2 separate regions of the Homo sapiens genome follow, and region 2 is linked to region 1. The links are contacts of gene promoters, found by promoter capture Hi-C in blood cells and fetal thymus (Javierre and others, 2016). All regions are on one chromosome and are shown on one strand. The core of a region is centred on a gene start or on the middle of the fragment in contact, and the rest is flanking DNA. Distances in the headings are between cores, read along the strand shown.

The links. The method cuts DNA at HindIII sites, captures the fragments that hold promoters and counts their contacts. A CHiCAGO score of 5 or more calls a contact.
Region 2: a fragment that was not itself captured here is called in contact with the fragment with the promoter of PLOD1 in region 1 in 1 of 17 cell types (neutrophils); the score reaches 7.2 in neutrophils.

What each region holds. Positions count from the first base shown.
Region 1 is chr1:11,933,184-11,936,903 of GRCh38, reverse strand. PLOD1 (procollagen-lysine,2-oxoglutarate 5-dioxygenase 1) reads right to left here and starts at 2,187. Exons shown (of 19, transcript NM_000302.4): 1 at 2,049-2,187. The coding sequence starts at 2,124. RefSeq lists a silencer at 1,909-2,378 and enhancers at 1,555-2,478, 2,599-2,648, 2,479-3,404. The HindIII fragment of the contact is 16,832 bases long and covers 1-3,720 here.
Region 2 is chr1:12,215,627-12,219,048 of GRCh38, reverse strand. No RefSeq gene overlaps it. Among named protein-coding and RNA genes, the nearest start is that of VPS13D, 13 kb to the left of the region's middle. The HindIII fragment of the contact is 5,126 bases long and covers 1-3,422 here.

The sequences.
Region 1 (3,720 bases), core at 938-3,437:
TGGACTCCAGCCTGGGCAACGGGAGTGAAACTCTGCCTCAAAAAAAAAAAAAGAAAGAAAAGAAAAGAAATGGTGGTTCCTGGCTGGGTGCAGTGGCTCCCACCTGTAATCCCAGCACTTTGGGAGGCCGAGGCAGGAGGATCACTTGAGGTCAGGAGTTTGAAACCAGCCTGGCCAACATGGCGAAACCTCGTCTCTTCTAAAGATACAAAAATTAGCTGGGCGTGGTGGTGCAGGCCTGTAATCCCAGCTACTTGGGAGGCTGACGCACGAGAATTGCTTGAACCCAGGAGACAGAGGTTGCAGTGAGCCAAGGTCATGCTACTGCACTCCAGCCTGGGGGACACAGTGAAACACTGTCTCAAAAAAAAATTAAATAAATAAAATAAAATAAATGGTGGTTCCCATTCCTGACCCAAAGAACCCGGGATCCTTCTGGTGATACAGTTTCAGGTTCTCCAGGAGGGTAAGCTGAAGGAGGAGAATGCCATGGAAAGTACCGCCACTTCTGCTTGGCTTTGCTGGGACTGTCCGCAGTCTATGCCCTTCTCGGGACAGCCCTGGAGATGGCCCATGCCAGGGAGGGCTGGGGAGGAGGGAAGCACCCACTCAGGACAGTGGGGCACACACTGCAATCCAATCTGCCTTGAGGAAGTAGAAAGAGCGCTAGACTGGAGCCCAGCTGACCTCGGACCAACCACCTCTGTCTGGACCACCCTGGACAGTCACTTCACCTGTCTGGGCCTCAGTTTCCTCAAGTATAAACTGCAGAGAGGGCCAGGTGTGGTGGCTCACGCCTGTAATCCCAACACTTTGGGAGACCAAGGTGGGCTGATCACCTGAGGTCAAGAGTTCAAGACCAGCCTGGCCAACATGGTGAAACCCCATCTCCACCAAAAATACAAAAATTAGCTGGGCATGGTGGCACATGTCTGTGATCCCACCTACCTGGGAGGCTGAGGTACAGGAGTCGCTTGAACCGGCCGGGCGCGATGGCTCACGCCTGTAATCCAAACATTTTGGGAGGCTGAGGCCAGCGGATCAAGAGGTCAGAAGTTCAAGACCAGCCTGGCCAGCATGGTGAAACCCCATCTCAACTAAAAATACAAAAATTAGCTAGGCATGGTGGCACGTGCCTGTAATCCCAGCTACTTGGGAGGCCGAGGCAGGAGAAACACTTGAACCTGGGAGGTGGAGGTTGCAGTGAGCTGAGATTGTGCCACTGCATTCCAGCCTGGGCGACAGAGCGAGACTCCATCTCAAAAAAAAAAAAAAGAATTGCTTTTACCTGGGAGGCAGAGGTTGCAGTAAGCCGAGATCGCATACTGCGTTCCAGCCTGGGCGACAGAGCAAGACTCTGTCTCAAAAATAAATAAATAACTAAATAAATAATACATTAAGTAAAATAAAAAAAATAAACTGCAGAGAGGAAGACCACCCTGGCAGGGGCTAAGCAGACCACAGGGGACATGGATGAAAGCACAAACTTATCCACAAAGTGAGCCACACCTTCTACCCCCATTCCTCCCCTGTCCCCCTCAAGACCCCTCATTCCCATGGTCATGAGGCCTCCTGGCTCTGGAACCAGACACCTGGGTGGGTGGGGTAAATCCTGGTTCCAAGGCCCACAAGTTGTATGATCTTGGGCAAGTGAATGAACTCTGGAGCCTCAGTTTGCCCAGCTGGAAAACGGGGATAATAGAAGGAAACACTTACCAGGGTAGCAATCATGCCTAACTGATGCCTGGCCCATAGTGAGCACTGGGCAGAATAGCCATTGTCGGTTATTATTATGAAAACTATTATTATTTGAGCCTTTCTGTGCTGAATGGGACTCAGCTGTCACCCTTTCCTTCCCGAAGCAGGAACCGCAGCCCCAAGAGGGGAAGTGATTTGTTCAAGTCACCAGCGATTAAGTGGACAAGGAGCCGGAACCCAGACTCCCTCTCCAGCCCAGGCCTCCCATTCAGGTCGTTCCCAGGGAGGCAGCCCGACACCAGCCCTCCCGCCCGGATCCGCGCTCCCGCCCCCGGCCTTCGCTCCCTCACCCTCCGGCTTGGCGTCGCCCTTCGCTTCGGCCAGCAGCAGCCAGCCCAGCAGGGCCAGTAGCAGCAGGGGCCGCATGGCCGAGGTATGGGGGACGATCGGCCGACCCGGCGGCGCTCGCAGGGCTGGAAACTTCGCGACGGGGCCGCAGGTCCCGCTGCCACGCACTGGGCCCGCCCCGGGGGCGGCACCACCCCGCCCCTCCACGCCCTCCCCCGCGCCTGCCTAGTGGGGAAGGGTTTTTCTGCAGATATGCCCAAGTCCGGGCCTCTCCTTATTAGGGCAGCTCCCTCCGCCTCTCTGTGCAGCTCCCGGGGCTTCCGTCAGGCCCTGCCGTCTCCCTCCCTTCTCTGGGGGGTTCACTCCGACCAGAAAGAGGGCGGTGAGAGGAGAGAGAGGCCACGATTTCTAGACCCCAGGTTCTGGGCCAAGGCTCCATGGCATCGATAGCCACGAGCCCCTGTTTGCTCGCCTGAAAAGTGGGGCTTATGATAGCGTCTGTTCATTGGGTCTTGCACGGGTTAATGGCGTTACCTGTAGCGCACTTAGAGCAGCCCCAGGTCAAGCCCCAAGGAAGTCAGTTTTCATGATTTCATTAGTCCTTCCCAAAACCCAAGGGGTGAGGGTGGGCACGGATGCGTTCAGAGACACGGACACCCCTACGTGGCCCACCCAGGCACTGGAAATGCAGGAAGCCCGTCTCCACTCTCCCCAAAAGGCAATCACTTGATCTCCCTTTGTGTCCCTGGGAGGCAAACCTCTGAGCCAAGGAAAGTCTTGCTTCTGAGGTTTTTTTGTTTTTTGTTTTTTTTTTTTCATTTTTTTGAGACAAGGTTGCTTTCAGTTGCCCAGGCTGGAGTGCAGTGGCGTGATCACCGCTTGCTGCAGCCTCGACCTCCCGGGCTCAAGCGATCCTCCCATCTCAGCCTCCCAAGTAGGTGGGATCACAGGCCTGAGCCACCATCCCTGGCTAATTTTTCTACCTTTTTTTTGAGACAGAGTTTCACTCTTGTTGCCCAGGCTGGAGTGCAACGGCGAGATCTGGGGTCACGGCAACCTCCGCCTCCCGGGTTCAAGCAATTCTCCTGCCTCAGCCTCCCGAGTAGCTGGGATTACAGGCATGTGCCACCATGCCCAGCTAATTTTGTATTTTTAGTAGAGGTGGGGTTTCTCCATGTTGGTCAGGCTGGTCTTGAACTCCCACCCTCAGATGATCCACCCGCCTTGGCCTCCCAAAGTGCTGGGATTACAGGCTGAGCCACCACACCCTAGAGAGATTAATTGTTAAATGAGTAAACGAATCGATGAAAGTTTTTAGGGCCTCTTCACAGATACCCAAAGCCCAACAAACAACTCAACGGTCTCTAGAGTAAGGGCTCCTGGACCAGATGTCAGACAGGGGCAGCCACCTCTGAACAAAAATCCTTCCTTCCTTGGAAGAAACCTCAGACAGAGGCCGGGCACGGTGGCTCACACCTGTAATCCCAGCACTTTGGGAGGCTGAGGCGAGCGGATCACAAGGTCAGGAGTTCAAGACCAGCTTGACCAACATGGTGAAACTCTGTCTCTACTAAAATACAAAAATTAGCCAGGCGTGGTGGCGCGCGCCTGTAATCCCAGCTACTCAGGAGGCTGAGGCAGTAGAATCACTTGAACCCAGGAGACTGAGTTTGC
Region 2 (3,422 bases), core at 386-2,885, 280 kb before region 1:
ACCACAGCTCAGAGGCCAGCCCCCTCATCTCACAGATGGTGATTCTGAGCTCCAGAGGGGGACAGAGGCTGCTCAAAGTTCACATGGCAAAATAGTGGTGGAACCAAGGCACAGTCACTCTTAGGATTCCCAGCCTTTAGATTCACCCAAAGCAGCTGCTCAGCCCAACCTCCTAGCTTTCAGGGTGCTGCTAGTTTCCCCAGAAAGATGTCTACCCCTTTAAATCCAGGTTTCCTTGACTTTCTTGTGAAATTCTAAGGAGCTGCTTATCAGGAACTTCCCACAGTAAACAGCCTGTCCAACACAATCCTAAGATAAGTGTCAAACCCAGCCCTGCCAGCCCTATGTCCTCCTCTGCAAAGCAGGGATAATGAGTACCTTGCCTATCTCGCAGGACAGTTACCGAGTTGAAATGATGCAACCTCACTTTCTCAACTGTGGTATTTTGGGGTTTTTTGGGGACAGGGTCTCGCTCTGTCACCCAGGCTGGAGTGCAGTGGCACCATCACAGCTCAAGCAATCTAGCTAATTTTTTGGTAGAGACGAGGTCTCCCTATGTTGCCCAGGATGGTATTAAGCTCCTGGCCTCAAGCCATCCTCCCACCTTGGGCCTCCCAAAGTGCTGGGATTACAGGTGTGAGCCACCATACCCAGTCTGCTTTCTCAGCATTAGCTCAGACAATGCTATGGAACTTCCCACACTCCCCAGCTCAGGCCCCTCCCATGACACTGAAGATAAAACCTAACGGCCCAGCATGGTGGCTCCCACCTGTAATCCCAGCACTTTGGGAGGCTGAGGCAGGCGGATCACCTGAAGTCAGGAGTTCAAGACTGGCCTGGCCAACATGGCAAAACCCTGTCTCTATTAAAAATACAAAAATTAGCCAGGTATGATGGCAGACAACTGTAATCCCAGCTGCCTGGGAGCCTGAGGCAGGAGAATCACTTGAACCCGGGTTGCAGTGAGCCAAGATCACACCACTGTACTCCAGCCTAGGAGACAGAGCAAGACTCTGTCTAAAAAAAAAAAAAAAAAAAAAAGCCAAAGTCCTTTCCATGGCTTCACACCACTCTCCCAACCCCATATCCCATCCCACCCCCCATAGTCCCATGGCTGTCCTGTCCTCCCCTCACCAAGGTGTCTGCTTAAACTCCAGCACCTCAGAGAAGCCTTCCTCAACCCACCTTGCAAACTGGCAGCAACCCTATCTGTCCCTTCACTTTGCTTTATTTTTCTTAGCACTTACCACTACAGGCATAGCCTACATGTCTGTCTTTACATAGTCCCTGCTAGTGTGTCAGCTCCAGGTGGACAGGGACCTTGCCTGTGCTGTTATCTGCAGCATTCTCAGCACCTATACATTAAAAAAAAAAAGCAATTAACATGTATGGAGCCCTGACAATGTGCCAGGCACAGTTCTAAGCATTTCAGACAGTAACTGATGTAATCCCACAATCTGAGGGAGGTACGATTTTAATCCCATCTTACAGATAAGGCGAGTAAGGCACAGAGACATCAGAGATATTCATTCACTTGATTGAGGTCACAGCAACAGGAAGTGTTGCATCCAGGATTCACACCTGGGCAGGTAGGCTTCCAGGACCTACAACTTTTCTTCTTTAAGACAGTGTCTCGGGGCTGGGCGTGGTGGCTCATGCCTGTAATCCCAGCACTTTGGGAGGCCGAGGTGGGCGGATCACGAGGTCAGGAGATCGAGACCATCCTGGCTAACACGGTGAAACCCCATCTCTACTAAAAATACAAAAAAGTTAACCGGGCGTGGTGGCGTGCGCCTGTGGTCCCAGCTATTTGGGAGGCTGAGGCAGGAGAATGGCGTGAACCTGGGAGGCGGAGCTTGCAGTGAGCTGAGATCAGGCCACTGCACTCCAGCCTGGGTGACAGAGCAAGACTCCGTCTCAAAAAAAAAAAAAAAAAGACAGGGTCTCACTCTGCCACCCAGGCTGGAGTACAGTGACTCGATCACGGTTCACTGCAGCCTCGACTTGATCACGGTTTATTGCAGCCTCAACTTCCTGGGCTCAAGCAATTCTCCCACCTCAGCCTCCCACAGTGCTGGGATTACAGGCTTGAGCCACCGCGCCAGGCTGGACCCACAATTTTGGGTTCTGTGCTTGTTCATCTATAATGATAATGAATGAATGAGAACAATAAAGAGAACTCAAAAAGACATTCCTTCTCTACCCAGGCTGGTCCTAGCTCCGCCAAACCACATGTTCTGTCCTGATTAAAGAAATGGGCAAGAGAAGCTGCAAGCCTGGCCCATGCTGACTGGTTGCTGTATCAGGCAGGTGGCTGCCCCTGGTTGCTCCAAATGGACCCCCTCAAACAGAATCATCTGGTGCCTCCTCTGTCTCCAGATAGGTGGTGAGCTCTGGGAAACAGCAGCGCTGGATCTGGTCCCTCGGGCTCAGCACCAGCCGATGTCCAATGCCTATGAGAGGAAGGAGCCAAAGCTGCCCTCCTCCCCCAGCACCAAGTCAATTCCCTGCTCTCAAAGGGGGTTTATTCCAGTTTCCATGATCCACACACTGGCTCAGCTCATGTTTCATACATTGACATCCCAACCAGGTTGGTGCTGTTACTATCCCCATTGTATATATAGATGGGGACTCAAGCTCAGTGCAGCCCCAGCCTCTGCAGAGTGGATGTTCAGTAAACGTGAACATCCACAGCAATGACACCATGAGTGAACACCAGAGCTGCTGGGGCTGCAATGGCCTCTGTGCAGGAAACACAGGGCACAGGCAAGTTGAAGGAAAACGCTTTTGCCAAGGAGAGGCAAGCATTAGAAGAACCCACAAGGAGAGGCACTAGCGGGAAGCTATGGGGCCACAGTGGTGGTGGCAGGGAGAATCTACCAGAAGGGGAAGGGGAGTAGGGAATACACACCTGGCCTCACTTTCTTCCCATCCTCCAGTCTCCTGATGAGTTGGGATCGTTCCCTTAGCCCCCTTCATAGGCAGGAATTGGAGTGGCTCATTTCATTCAGCCTGCCGCTGGCCACTCCTCGTGAAAGAAAGCATGTAAGCAAGTGAGTGCGAGGACCAGAGGGAATGAATGCCGGAACTGGCCAGTCGCTCCTTTCTGGTAGGAGCAGGCTCTGTACAGGCCCCACAGCAGCATCCAAGTCCCTGCCTTCTCAGCATGCAGATTCTTGTCTGGCATCCAGGAAGAATCAGGTCACACAGATGGATTGAAAGATGATGAATGCAGAAGACTTTATTGAGCAGTGAAAGGGGCTCTCAGCAGAAGGGGAGCTGAAAAGGGGATGATGCAGGAAGGTGATCTTTCCCTGAAGCCACGCCATCTGAAGTTAATCACGTCTATCCGTAGTCTCTGACGCTCAGTTGCTTCTCTGCTCAGATGCTTGTTATCTCCTCCAGTCAGCCGTTTGTGTCAC